4 separate regions of the Homo sapiens genome follow, and regions 2, 3 and 4 are each linked to region 1. Evidence: promoter capture Hi-C in 16 types of primary human blood cells and fetal thymus (Javierre and others, 2016). All regions are on one chromosome and are shown on one strand. Each heading gives the region's core, a stretch centred on a gene start or on the middle of the fragment in contact. The rest is flanking DNA. Distances are from core to core; before and after follow the strand shown. Region 1 holds the start of ADGRB3-DT (ADGRB3 divergent transcript). Region 2 has its middle 15 kb from the start of LMBRD1. Region 3 overlaps LMBRD1 (LMBR1 domain containing 1). Region 4 overlaps COL19A1 (collagen type XIX alpha 1 chain).

Region 1 (2,700 bases), core at 132-2,631:
GTCAGACGAGCCTGGGGTTACTGGAGACAGTGTCTTGCTTGGCGTAGTTATCATCCACAAATCATCTGCTATAAATATATCTCAGAAGGATCATCATCAGGCCAGCTCAGTAGCCTGCAATTTATGAAGGTTATGAGAAACAATGTGAAGGGTGAAGCGCTTTATTAAGGGTGGCTTTCTTTTCTGACCCTGCCCTGACTTCTACTTGAATATAAATGATCCTGGGAGTAAGTGAACCTTTCCATTTAGGATTTAGGCTTTTAAATTGTCCCTTTCAGCTGTTATTCTTATGCCACTGTGTCATGACTTTAAGAATTTCTAAGAAACATCAAAATCAGTGTTACAAGATAATATGAGAAATCACTAGATGCAAAATAGAGGTATAACTGAACCTCACATTACATTCTTTCCTTTTTATGTATAAACCATCCAAAGCATTTTTTCCTCCGTTTTTATTCCACATCTGTCATGCTTTTTTTTCCTCTGGATAAAGTAACAGAACTGACCAAATTGCCTTGCGAAAATCATAATTACGATCTCTAGGGAAGTTGAAATAAATAAAATGTTTTTCTCCTTTGTGTTGCTCAATGTTCTTTGTTTTTAAAAGAAAATGTGTTGCTTAAACGGTGTTTCAAAATTTGTTCTGGACATAAACCCTAATTATTTCCTTTTAACATTTCCTTAAATGAATAAAAAATATTGTAAAGAACCAAAATGACACAAAACCAAAATGCCACCCAGGCTGCTCTCTTGCCGGTGATTTGTTACTGGGAAAATAGTTAAAGCCTGCTGGGGAATTATTAACTGTTTCCCCTTACAGTGTTTATCCCAGGCATTCGTTTAAGACGGGAAAGCCTTGAAGAGGGTCACTCTATTAATATGCATTAAGAAGTAAAGGACCAATTTTAATATTTCAAACAACTCCAGTGGATAACAGACCATAAACTTCCTGTTTTCACTATCAATCTCTTTTAAAATGGTGTTCTTGGCTATCCATAATCGCCCCAGGGGAGAGAAACAAGCGGAGGAAAAAAATGCAAGAGTGAGGGGAACAAATGATGGAAAATTGCTTTATTCAACTTCACCTGCCGCTCGAGAAACTCACCCTTACGAAGATTCCAGCACTTTATATGAATTACCCATTATGGTTTCCTCCCACCACATCACTGCACTATTTTAGCACTTGTTTTGCAAACCACCAACTGCGTTTACAAGTAGAAACATAATCAGGAGGCGAATGACCTTTTGTAGCATGTATCTGAAGCTGGTTTATCAGACACTTCGTCAGCCAACTGTCCAGGAGGCAAAATGACTATCTATGATGATAGATAGACAGACAGATAGATAGTTAGATTAAAAGGTGGGGAAACATCCCTTTTCCCTTTTTCCTTTCTATATAATCTGGTTTTTTCTCTTCACCCCTTTTCTCGCTTCTTCCCACCCCGTCCCCAAACCTGTTACTAGGGAAACTTGAAAAAGAATCAGATACATTAAGACTACAAAACGAAACAAAAGTTTAGACCCCGAAACCATGATTCCATTGCCAAGCACAAAGCAATGCAAGAGCCCAACGTCGGTCGCCGCACCGCGATCCTGACAAAGCCTGTATGGAGCCAGAACAAATAAGATGTTAATTGCAGCCTCGCAGAGAAAAAAATACTATTGTTCCAGCCAGAGACACTCAGCAGCTCGGTAGCTGGGATGTGCCCCCTCCGCTGCGGACTGGATCAATTCTGAATCCCGGTACTGAAATGACAGCTCTCTGGCTGCGACAGGTCTGCGCTGAAAGAAAGAGAAAGACGATCAAGTCCAGCATTCACTTCCCACCCTTCAGAGTCGCCTTCCCATCCTCCGCACCCCCCTGCCTCGCCTCCCAGTGAGTTTCTCTTACAGTTGGTCGCCGCCAGCCCCAGCGGTGGGAACTGAGGATGCAAAAACCTCCCAGACGCAGAAAATACCGCTTTCGGGACGTGCTTGGGTTTGAGTAGCCGTGACGTGCAGGCGAACCGCGGCCCTGGCTGGAGCTCCGTGGAGCCCCCCTCCCGCCAGCCTCTCCCCCGCCCTCCCGCCGGGACTCCCTCCTCTCCCACCCCGCGGCTCCCTTCGCCTTCTCTCTCACACACCCGCCCGCGCCCCCGGCAGGCAGAACTCCAGGAAGTCGCAGCGGCCGCGCCGCGCGAGCCGAGCCTCTGGCGGGCGGCGGGGCGCACCGCAGCTGTGCATAAGAAGGGCGCGCGGCACCCGGGACGCGCGCGCACACGAGCACGCGGGAGGCCGCCGCGCGGACGCGCTCCCGGGACACGCGCACCCCCCGCGCGCGCGCCCAAGGGAGAGCGAGCACTGCGCGCCGGCGCGCACACCCGAGACAGAGCTTTACTATCTCGCTCCCTCTCGCGCCTCCCTCCTCGCTGGGCATTCAAACAGCTTTCCGACATCACCAGCCAAGGATTTTTTTCCCCGCTCTCCTTAGTCGCCGTCCGTCCATCAGTACCTGCAGGGGGGAGGAGGAGGAGGGAGGAAAGCGGAAAGAGGAAAAAGCATAAGCTTGAGCCTTCCGATCCGACCACGAATACTCCTGTAATAAACCCACCGCCCCAACAAATCTGCCATAGCAGCCGCCGCCGCCGCCGGTCACTTCTCGTCTCAGCGCTTTCTTTGCTTCTTGGTTTGTTGGGGGTAGCTTTTATGAAACAAATCTTT
Region 2 (2,700 bases), core at 158-2,657, 1.2 Mb after region 1:
GCCCAACCATAATTTTCTTAATAATATTTTCTTTTCTCTAGTTTTCATTATTGGAAGAATGCAATATATAATAAATACAACATGCAAAATATATGTTAATCAACTATTTATGTTATTGGTAAGGATTCCAGTCAATAGAAGGCTATTACTAGTTAAGTTTTTGGAGAGTCAAAAGTTATAGGCAGATTTTCAAGTGCATGGGGATTCAGCATCCCTAACCCCTAACTTATTCAGGGGTCAACTGTACTTAGTCAACTGATTGTAGATATTTATCATGTCTACAAAATACCTTCACGGCAACACATAGCATTTGAATAGTTGATTATTATAGCCAAGCCGAGTTAACATTAGAGATGCTTTTCAGAATTGTAAATTGAGAGATGTGGAGAATGATGATGCCACTAATGAAGACAGGGAACATACGAAGAAGAGAAGATTAAGGGTGAGGAATGACAGAAATAAACTGTATTTCATAGATTCTAAGATGCACTTTTCTCCTTTACATTTTAACATCTCTGATGTTAGGACTCACCTTTAAATTGATGGGATCTTACCACTATAACTGGTATATTTTGTTCTTCATCATTTATAAAATGATGGTGCATCTTACAGTCAATGTCACCTTAGAGTGAAGGAAACAAGGTAGTAGATTTTATTTGGTACCTTGGATTTGAGGTGCCTGAGGAACACGGATAGCTCTAGTTCATAGAATGTATAGGCGGGAAACTCAGCCAAGGGACCTGCCACAGAGGTATGAGTCATCTATACTCAAGTAAAAGCTGAAGCAATGAAAATGCAAAAAATTCCCAGGAAAAATTGGTAGAAGTGAGAATAATAGTCAGCTAAATAGACAACCCTAAAAAAACAGCAAACTTTAAGGAGAGAATAAAAGGAAAAGAGTGGTTAGAACTAATAATCAGAATACATCATATAAACAAAGAGAGAAGATACTTTTTAAAACTAATGAGTAGCTGTCAATACCAAATATAGTGAGAGGACTAGCAAGTGCCCACCGAGTATGGCAACATGAGTGGGGGGGTCATTAACGAATTTTCTAGAATAATTCCACTGGAGTGGATAGGAAGCAGACAAGTTGCACTGGCTTAGAGGAATGAAGGAGAATTAGGAAAACGGAGGTCATGAATGTAAAATATTCTTTCAGGAAGCTTGACTAAAAAGGGGTGGAATAATGAAAAAGTTAAATAGAGAGGATAAGGTCAATGGTGATTTCTGCAGAAGTGACTCAGATTTGAACTCATTTCTAAGAAACGTAGAAAAGGCGTGGGCCACTCTTATGTTACTAAACCAAACAGGGGTCCCATTGCCCAGTGCAGTAAGGCCAAATATTCATACCGAGGTTGCTTTGCAGCAGGAGAAAGGAGGGCCTTTATTAGTAGGGTACCAAGCAAGGATAATTGGGCAGCTGAAATGTAAGACCCAAACTTCCAGATGGCTTGCAAGCAAGGGTGTTTAAAGGCAGAGGTAAATTTCAGGAAAGCAGAAGTTATAGGCAAAACTATAAATCAACACATAGAGGTGATACATTGGTTTGGCCTACAAAGGTGGAAGCAGAGTCAGGTGGGGCAGGGTGCTTCCAGGTCATAACTGGATTTCAAAGATTTTCTGACTTGCAATTGGTTAAAGAAGAGAAGCTTTGTTTAAAAATTTGGGATCAGAAGAAAGAAATATTAAGTCTGGCCTGTGGGCGTGACTTCCTCCATGCCCCTCAGGAAGAAATTTAAAGCAAGAGTTCAGTCCTCAATTACCTCTTATTTGAGGTCTACATGCCAGGGAATCCATTTGGTGGGGGTACCAGCTTCTAAGAAACAACTCAGGGACATATATTCTGATGTTCTCTTTAGTTTCTACAGGGTGAAACCGCCTTTGCAAAATTATAACTGAGGAAATTATGACAGTGACAGAAATCACACCTAACTGATTCCATCTGGCTCCTAATCTTTAAGCTGTCCTTCTTCATTCCTGAGGATAGGCCAAACTAATTTTGAGAAGGAATTCAGTTCATGGCTTGATTCTGAAACAAAATTGATAATAGACCTTTCCTGAAAAGACCCCTTCCTTGCCTGGGTACCAGTCTGCCTTTGCAGGACTAACAAATTAGCTACAAGATTAGAAATTACAGTTTAGGGGCATGCAGCCTCTGGCTCCAAGTTGCTGGGGATAACATCACTATTGCAAACCTAAGATCAGTGCTTGAGATATTTTGCAGAATCTGCACTGGATGGATCAGCAGACACCACCCAGACCAGTAATCTGGCTCAACCAGTTCTACCATCTCACCCAGATGAACAGAAAACAGCAAGAAAAAGTCAACTTCGACCCCCTATGGTTCCATCTCCAACCTGACCAATCAGCACTCCCCACTTCTCAAGCCCCTACCTGCCAAATTATCTTTAAAAACTCTGATCCTCAAATGCTCAAGGATATTTGATTTGAGTAATAATAAAACTCCAGTCTCCTGCACAGATGGCTCTGTGTGACTTAGTCGTTCTGCCTTGCAGTTCCCCTCTCTTCATAAATCGTCTCTGTCTAAGCAGTGGGCAAGGTGAATCCGTTGAGCAGTTACAAGGAAACCAAACATCTCAGAACTCTAATTCCCTTGGCTATAGTTTTAAGCTACTCTTGCCTTCTTGCTTATCAAGTTGCTCATTTACTTCTTAGGGCTAACCAGGTGTCTGGAAG
Region 3 (2,778 bases), core at 228-2,727, 1.1 Mb after region 1:
AAACACCCAGATCTCGTGAGAACTCTATCCCAAGACAGTACTACGAGGATGGTGCTAAACCATTAGACACTACCCCGATGATCCAATCACTTCCCACCAGGCCACACCGCCGACACTCGGGATCACAATTCAACATGAGATTTGGGTAGAGACAGACAGCCAAACCACATCATTCATATTATTTTCATAATCCAAAAGAATGTTGCTTTTTACAACAAAATGCCATGGCAATATTTTGCTAAGCCCAGCTTATATGCAGGTATGTTTCCCTGTCCCCTCAACCACCTCCAATCTAGGCCTATTTGTCCTCAATGCTTGTTATTCTGTGTTGGATGGATTAGGTTCCCTGAATGCACTAACTGCAGTACTCGATACTGTTTCCCAAGGAACCTTTTGCTCTAGTCAGTATTAACAACATGGCCCTTATTTACAGTCTACTGTCAAACACAAGGCCTTCTGAATTATCCTAAACTGGTCTGCTGGTCTCAATTTCTACAAATCCATCTTCTACACTGTTTCTAAAGTGATCTCACTCTAATACCCAAGTCAATATATGTCATTCCTCTAATTAACATCCTTTAAGATTCTACAGGACTAATAAATGTATTTTTCAAAGCATTCTGGTATGAGTTCCTAGGAATCTGGAAAGGTGCCACTAGGGCCACTACAGAAGATAAGGCAGCTAGCCATGCAGGAATCTGCTGCTACTTTAACCAGAGCAATTCTACTTGTTCCCAACCTCTATATGTATATGAACATATAAAATTGTTTTAAAAAGTTGTTTTGCTATTTTTTTTTTATGAAAGGTACAATTATTGGTTGGTATTGGGAAAAGACTCTAATTAATGTAATTCTACATATAAAGCACTTCATGACCTGATCCCTACCAACTTGTTAACTTTATCTCATGCTTCTGAATTGTTCATAGTTCTTAAAACACTACAATTTTATGCTACTTTAGGCTTTGTCCAACATACACATTTTATTCCATGTAGTGCCCTCATCTAGAATGCCCACCTTCTCATCTTATTTCATTAACAACTGTTAATGCCCTTCAGGTCTCGGTTTAATTACAATACGTCTGAGAAACCTTCCCTGACTTGTAAATGTCCCTTGCTTATAACTCAATTATAACGCATAGGTATATTAACATTATTCATCTGCACATTTGTTTTATCACTAGATCTGCCAAACTTGGCTGAACAGATTTCTAGGCCAGACTAATAACAACTACAGTAGACTATCTGGTATGTAATGACTAAGTCCCAATTCTTTTTCCTCCTACCTTTGTTTCAAGAACAAACATTTATTATTAAATTAATAAAATAATTTCTCCAAGAAGATAATAATTGACCAATAAGCTTTTAGGAAGAGACAGCTCTTAATTCACACAAAGTTATTTCCTTAAATGGAATTGATATACTTATTAGAAGAGCTGAACTGAATTTCTAAATAGCTTAATTTAAAATATTTTATAAAATAAAAAAGTTTCTGGTAACAACTTGCGGTAACATAAGACCAGAACAAAACACTATTTTTAAATTTTTAATTGTCCGAAGACAACGTAGAAGAAAGGTGCCATCGTTTGGTTACCAAGCTTTTAGCTTGTTTTTGGACTGCATTTTCAATAATTATCAGGAAATTTAACTACAATATTTAGATTATGATAAGCTTGACATAGACCTTATATAAAACATTATAACTTTTAAGGTCTTTAAACAACAATCTTTTGAACTTCACGAACTTCACTTCAGACTTTTTTTTTAATGTACAAAAAGGCTATCCTTTTCAGAAACACAAAACTTTTATTACTTACTACTGCCCTCTAGTGAATTTCCAGAAAAAAAAATCAGAAAACTAAAGAGATTGTATAGTTTAAAATGCTTCTATTAATAGGTTGGCCCTAATTGTCTCCAAATTTATTTTGACTTCCAAGAATAAATCACCAACTGTATTTGAAAACTAAAATGTTTTAAAATAATATATACAAACTACATTCCTAATAACTTCTTTTACCGCTCAGTTTAGAAGGGCACGTTTTCTTTACATATCTCTCTCCTTTATCTGGAATGCTGGTTTCCAACTCTGCAGGCCTTAGATTATTGTAAAGGGTCAACACTAAATACTACCTGTAGACTTAATAAATGTCTTCCACATATTTGTGAAATCTATTATTCAAAGATGTACATGTTATTATGATTAATGAAACAACACAGGTACTCAAGACTTTCCTTTTAAGTATTCACTGAGTCTAAGACGTATATATTTTCTTACATTTAATATCAGTGAAATTTGGATGCATCTAAAAATTGAAGGCATCATATAATTGAAGGCTAGGCAGAAGCCATGACATAGTTGTCGCTACATGCACATTCACAAATTTGGTCACAGCAAGTTACATTACAGTCACTTCAGTTGAATTACATGCATTCTTGGTACAATTATTGAGTTTAATTGCCACTTATGTCTTAAAAGATAATATGATTTGACATTAAAGCAAAAAGTTAATGTGTAAGTCAGGAGAAAGAGAATGAAGATGCATCGGTAGTAAAGAAAATATTCATTAGAATAATGGGCATAATTCTGTATTTTCTTAAAAAGCAACAGTCAAGTGCTTCATAAGCTTAAGAAAGGAAGATATCCAAAAGAGAAGCATTTTTCTGCTTAGGTATATGCAAAAGGATTCCCTTCTATATGGCAAGACAAGAAACAACAGCAAAACATCTTAAATTTACAGGATAGGTGTGTTGGCAGCTTCGAAGAAAATCCCAGAGATAA
Region 4 (2,700 bases), core at 142-2,641, 1.5 Mb after region 1:
TTTCATTTTCCCTGAGTGAGACAACTTTCCCACAACTGTTATCCACTGCAATTTCATGCTCCTTGGAGTTTCTGTGCACCAAAATCATCCCCAAGCAATATACTCTCTTGATTAGCTAGTATTTTATTCCACCTCCTTTGACTATATTTATTTTTTCTTTTCTTCCACCATCTTATAAGCGCGAAGGCTCCTTGCCCTTCATTTGGCATTATTGAAACCTCAAAAGTTATTTAAGATGCTGGTTGAGATTGTTAACTTCCTTCCTTTTCCATCTCAGCCTAACTCTGATCTTTCTTTCTCCTGCTCTCTTTCTAGTAGAAGCCCTCCATGATTTTGAACTTCCTTGTGTCTCTGTGTTGTTCCTCTCTCTTATCCTTACCCCTCTCCCATTCTGGTCACTTTCCTCTTGACTCTTCTTGTCATCCAAGTCTTTCTTTTTTTTTTTTTTTTTTTTTTTTTGGAGATGGAGTCTTGCTCTGTCACTCAGGCTGGAGTGTAGTGGCGTGATCTCAGCTAACTGCAACCTCTGCCTTCTGGGTTCAAGCAATTCTCCTGCCTCAGCTTCCCAAGTAGCTGGGACTACAGGTGCACGCTAACATGCCCTGCTAATTTTTTGTATTTTAGTAGAGACAGAGTTTCACCATGTTGCCCAAGCTGGTCTCGAACTCCTGAGCTCAAGCAATCTGCCCGTCTTGGCCTCCCAAAGTGCTAGCATTGTGGGTGTTAGCCACTGTGCCCAGCCCTTTCAAAAGGCATGTCTACACCAAGTCTCAGACCATTCTTTTCTTGGCCCTTAGTGATTGTATACCTCATTAATCCTGTGATCTTTCACCACACGATGCCCTGCTCGATTGTTTAAAAACCAGCTTTAAGATGATTGGTATTTTATTTTCCCATCATCCTTCTCACTGTGAGGTGGTTTAGGGGAAAGAGTTAAAAGATCAAGGCAGTGGGGTCAGACAGACCTGAGTTGAAACCTAGCTCTTGTCTACTATTTATATGACCTTGAGTCAGATATTTAGTCTTTTGTTATGTGTAAAATAAGGAAACACCACCTCACTGGGCTGCTGTAAGAGCTAAATGCAATAATGCATGTACCTCACACAGTTGTCACTTTCAAAGGGTAACTATTGTTATTTATTAATATTTTTGTTATCATTATCCTCATTTAATCATTATTTGCCATCTTCTCATTATTTTTGTCTTTCTTTCCCAGGATTTAGGAACTGACATTTCCAAAGCAAAAGGGTTGATATTTTTTCTCTTTTATTATCACCTGCATGTAAATTTTTCTTCTATCTGCTTGGCTCCCCTCCTTCCTATTTTCCTCTGTTAAAGTCTTTATAGAGAAACTTCATCCATCTAAGAATGTTGGCCTAAATATATGCATATACATATTCATCATCTGGAAAAACTCATTAGATTCTATTTTCAATGTGAACAAACACACTTGAAAACATCTCTTTTAAATTGAGAGCATTTAAGTTTCATAACTGTATTCTTTTGTATTGACCAATGAATGAAACAGGTCCATCAGATTAGCACTGAAACATGAATTTTCCCTGAGCTTATTTCCATTTGAGTCCCCACCACTTACAATCCAAGTTAACCTGAAGACTTGGCTCACAAGTCATTTCTCAAAGCCTCTTTCCAGAAAGTGAAAGCCCTCAGCCTAACGGTGGTGGAGGCAGAGATGCAGTCTGCAGAGTCCTCAGCCTCCCTTTCCTACTTGGTACTGTCTTCTCCTGTCCTTAGCCCCCAAGGGCCATCCCTTTATTCTTCTCCTTTCCTGTCCTACCCGCCTTGCTCTTGGGAAATATGTAATGAACAATTCACATGAATCTATTAGAATGGAATGATTTTGGACTTGGTTCTACCATTCATGTGGTTTGGGGAAAAATCTCTTGGTTTTCCCATCTGTTAAATGGAAAATATAATACTACCCACTTCAGTTGGTTATTATAAGAATCAAATAAGATAATGCATTTTACAGTCACATTACCCTACCACCCAAGAAAATATAAGTGAAAATACTTTTAGAATTATCCAGAGCTGTGAAAACATGAACCTTTAGTATTATATCTCCCAGGAACATTTGCATTTGATCTGGCAGTAAAACCTAACATCAAAAAAAATAAGACTTTTGTTAGGACATTTTGGGCATAACCTGGAGAGCAGGCAAGATATTTGAAGGAAAAAGACCTCCTCCCAGGAACCTTTAAATTTCACCTATATGTGGCCCATGTTCTCTAGGGTGACCCATTTAATCCCAAGTATGAGAGCTTGAGGTCTCTATATTGAAATGTAAGAATAATATAAATACTCACTGAATCTGCTCTTGGCTTTAGGAATCACATTTTATAGTTCAAGAGTTTCTAGCAGTTGTTGTTTTTTTTGTTTTGTTTTTTGGTGTTTTGTTTTTTTTTTTTTTTTTGGTGGGGAGAAGGTGTTGGTATCCCTTTAGTCACTAAAAATTCTCAACAGAAGCATTCTCAGAAAAAAAATCCATTACAATTATAACTGCTTAATTTATGTAATTAAACCCCAAGAGACACTGAAAAAAATTTCATTTTGAGTAAATATTAAGACAGAGAAAAGGATGTGTGTCTTTTTTAAAAAAAGAAATTGAGTCCCCCAATATTTTCTATCTAAAGAACATTATTGATTTTTTCCCCCAGAATTACTTTACAACTTATATGT

The links. Contacts are between HindIII fragments. The CHiCAGO score rates a contact against its expected background, and 5 or more counts as called.
Region 2: a contact is called between a fragment that was not itself captured here and the fragment with the promoter of ADGRB3-DT in region 1, in 1 of 17 cell types (M0 macrophages). The highest score is 5.2, in M0 macrophages.
Region 3: a contact is called between a fragment that was not itself captured here and the fragment with the promoter of ADGRB3-DT in region 1, in 1 of 17 cell types (endothelial precursors). The highest score is 5.4, in endothelial precursors.
Region 4: a contact is called between a fragment that was not itself captured here and the fragment with the promoter of ADGRB3-DT in region 1, in 1 of 17 cell types (M2 macrophages). The highest score is 7.3, in M2 macrophages.

Annotation. Positions count from the first base shown.
Region 1 is chr6:68,632,943-68,635,642 of GRCh38, forward strand. ADGRB3-DT (ADGRB3 divergent transcript) reads right to left here and starts at 1,382. Exons shown (of 2, transcript NR_125872.1): 1 at 1,243-1,382; 2 at 1-114. ADGRB3 (adhesion G protein-coupled receptor B3) reads left to right here and starts at 2,340. Exons shown (of 32, transcript NM_001704.3): 1 at 2,340-2,700. RefSeq lists a silencer at 2,079-2,288. The HindIII fragment of the contact is 3,749 bases long and covers 1-2,542 here.
Region 2 is chr6:69,810,680-69,813,379 of GRCh38, forward strand. No RefSeq gene overlaps it. Among named protein-coding and RNA genes, the nearest start is that of LMBRD1, 15 kb to the left of the region's middle. The HindIII fragment of the contact is 486 bases long and covers 1,165-1,650 here.
Region 3 is chr6:69,728,204-69,730,981 of GRCh38, forward strand. All of the region lies in intron 7 of LMBRD1 (LMBR1 domain containing 1), which reads right to left. Among named protein-coding and RNA genes, the nearest start is that of LMBRD1, 67 kb to the right of the region's middle. The HindIII fragment of the contact is 236 bases long and covers 1,360-1,595 here.
Region 4 is chr6:70,113,409-70,116,108 of GRCh38, forward strand. The region is part of intron 16 of COL19A1 (collagen type XIX alpha 1 chain); the gene reads left to right. Among named protein-coding and RNA genes, the nearest start is that of COL9A1, 190 kb to the right of the region's middle. The HindIII fragment of the contact is 4,286 bases long and covers 1-2,700 here.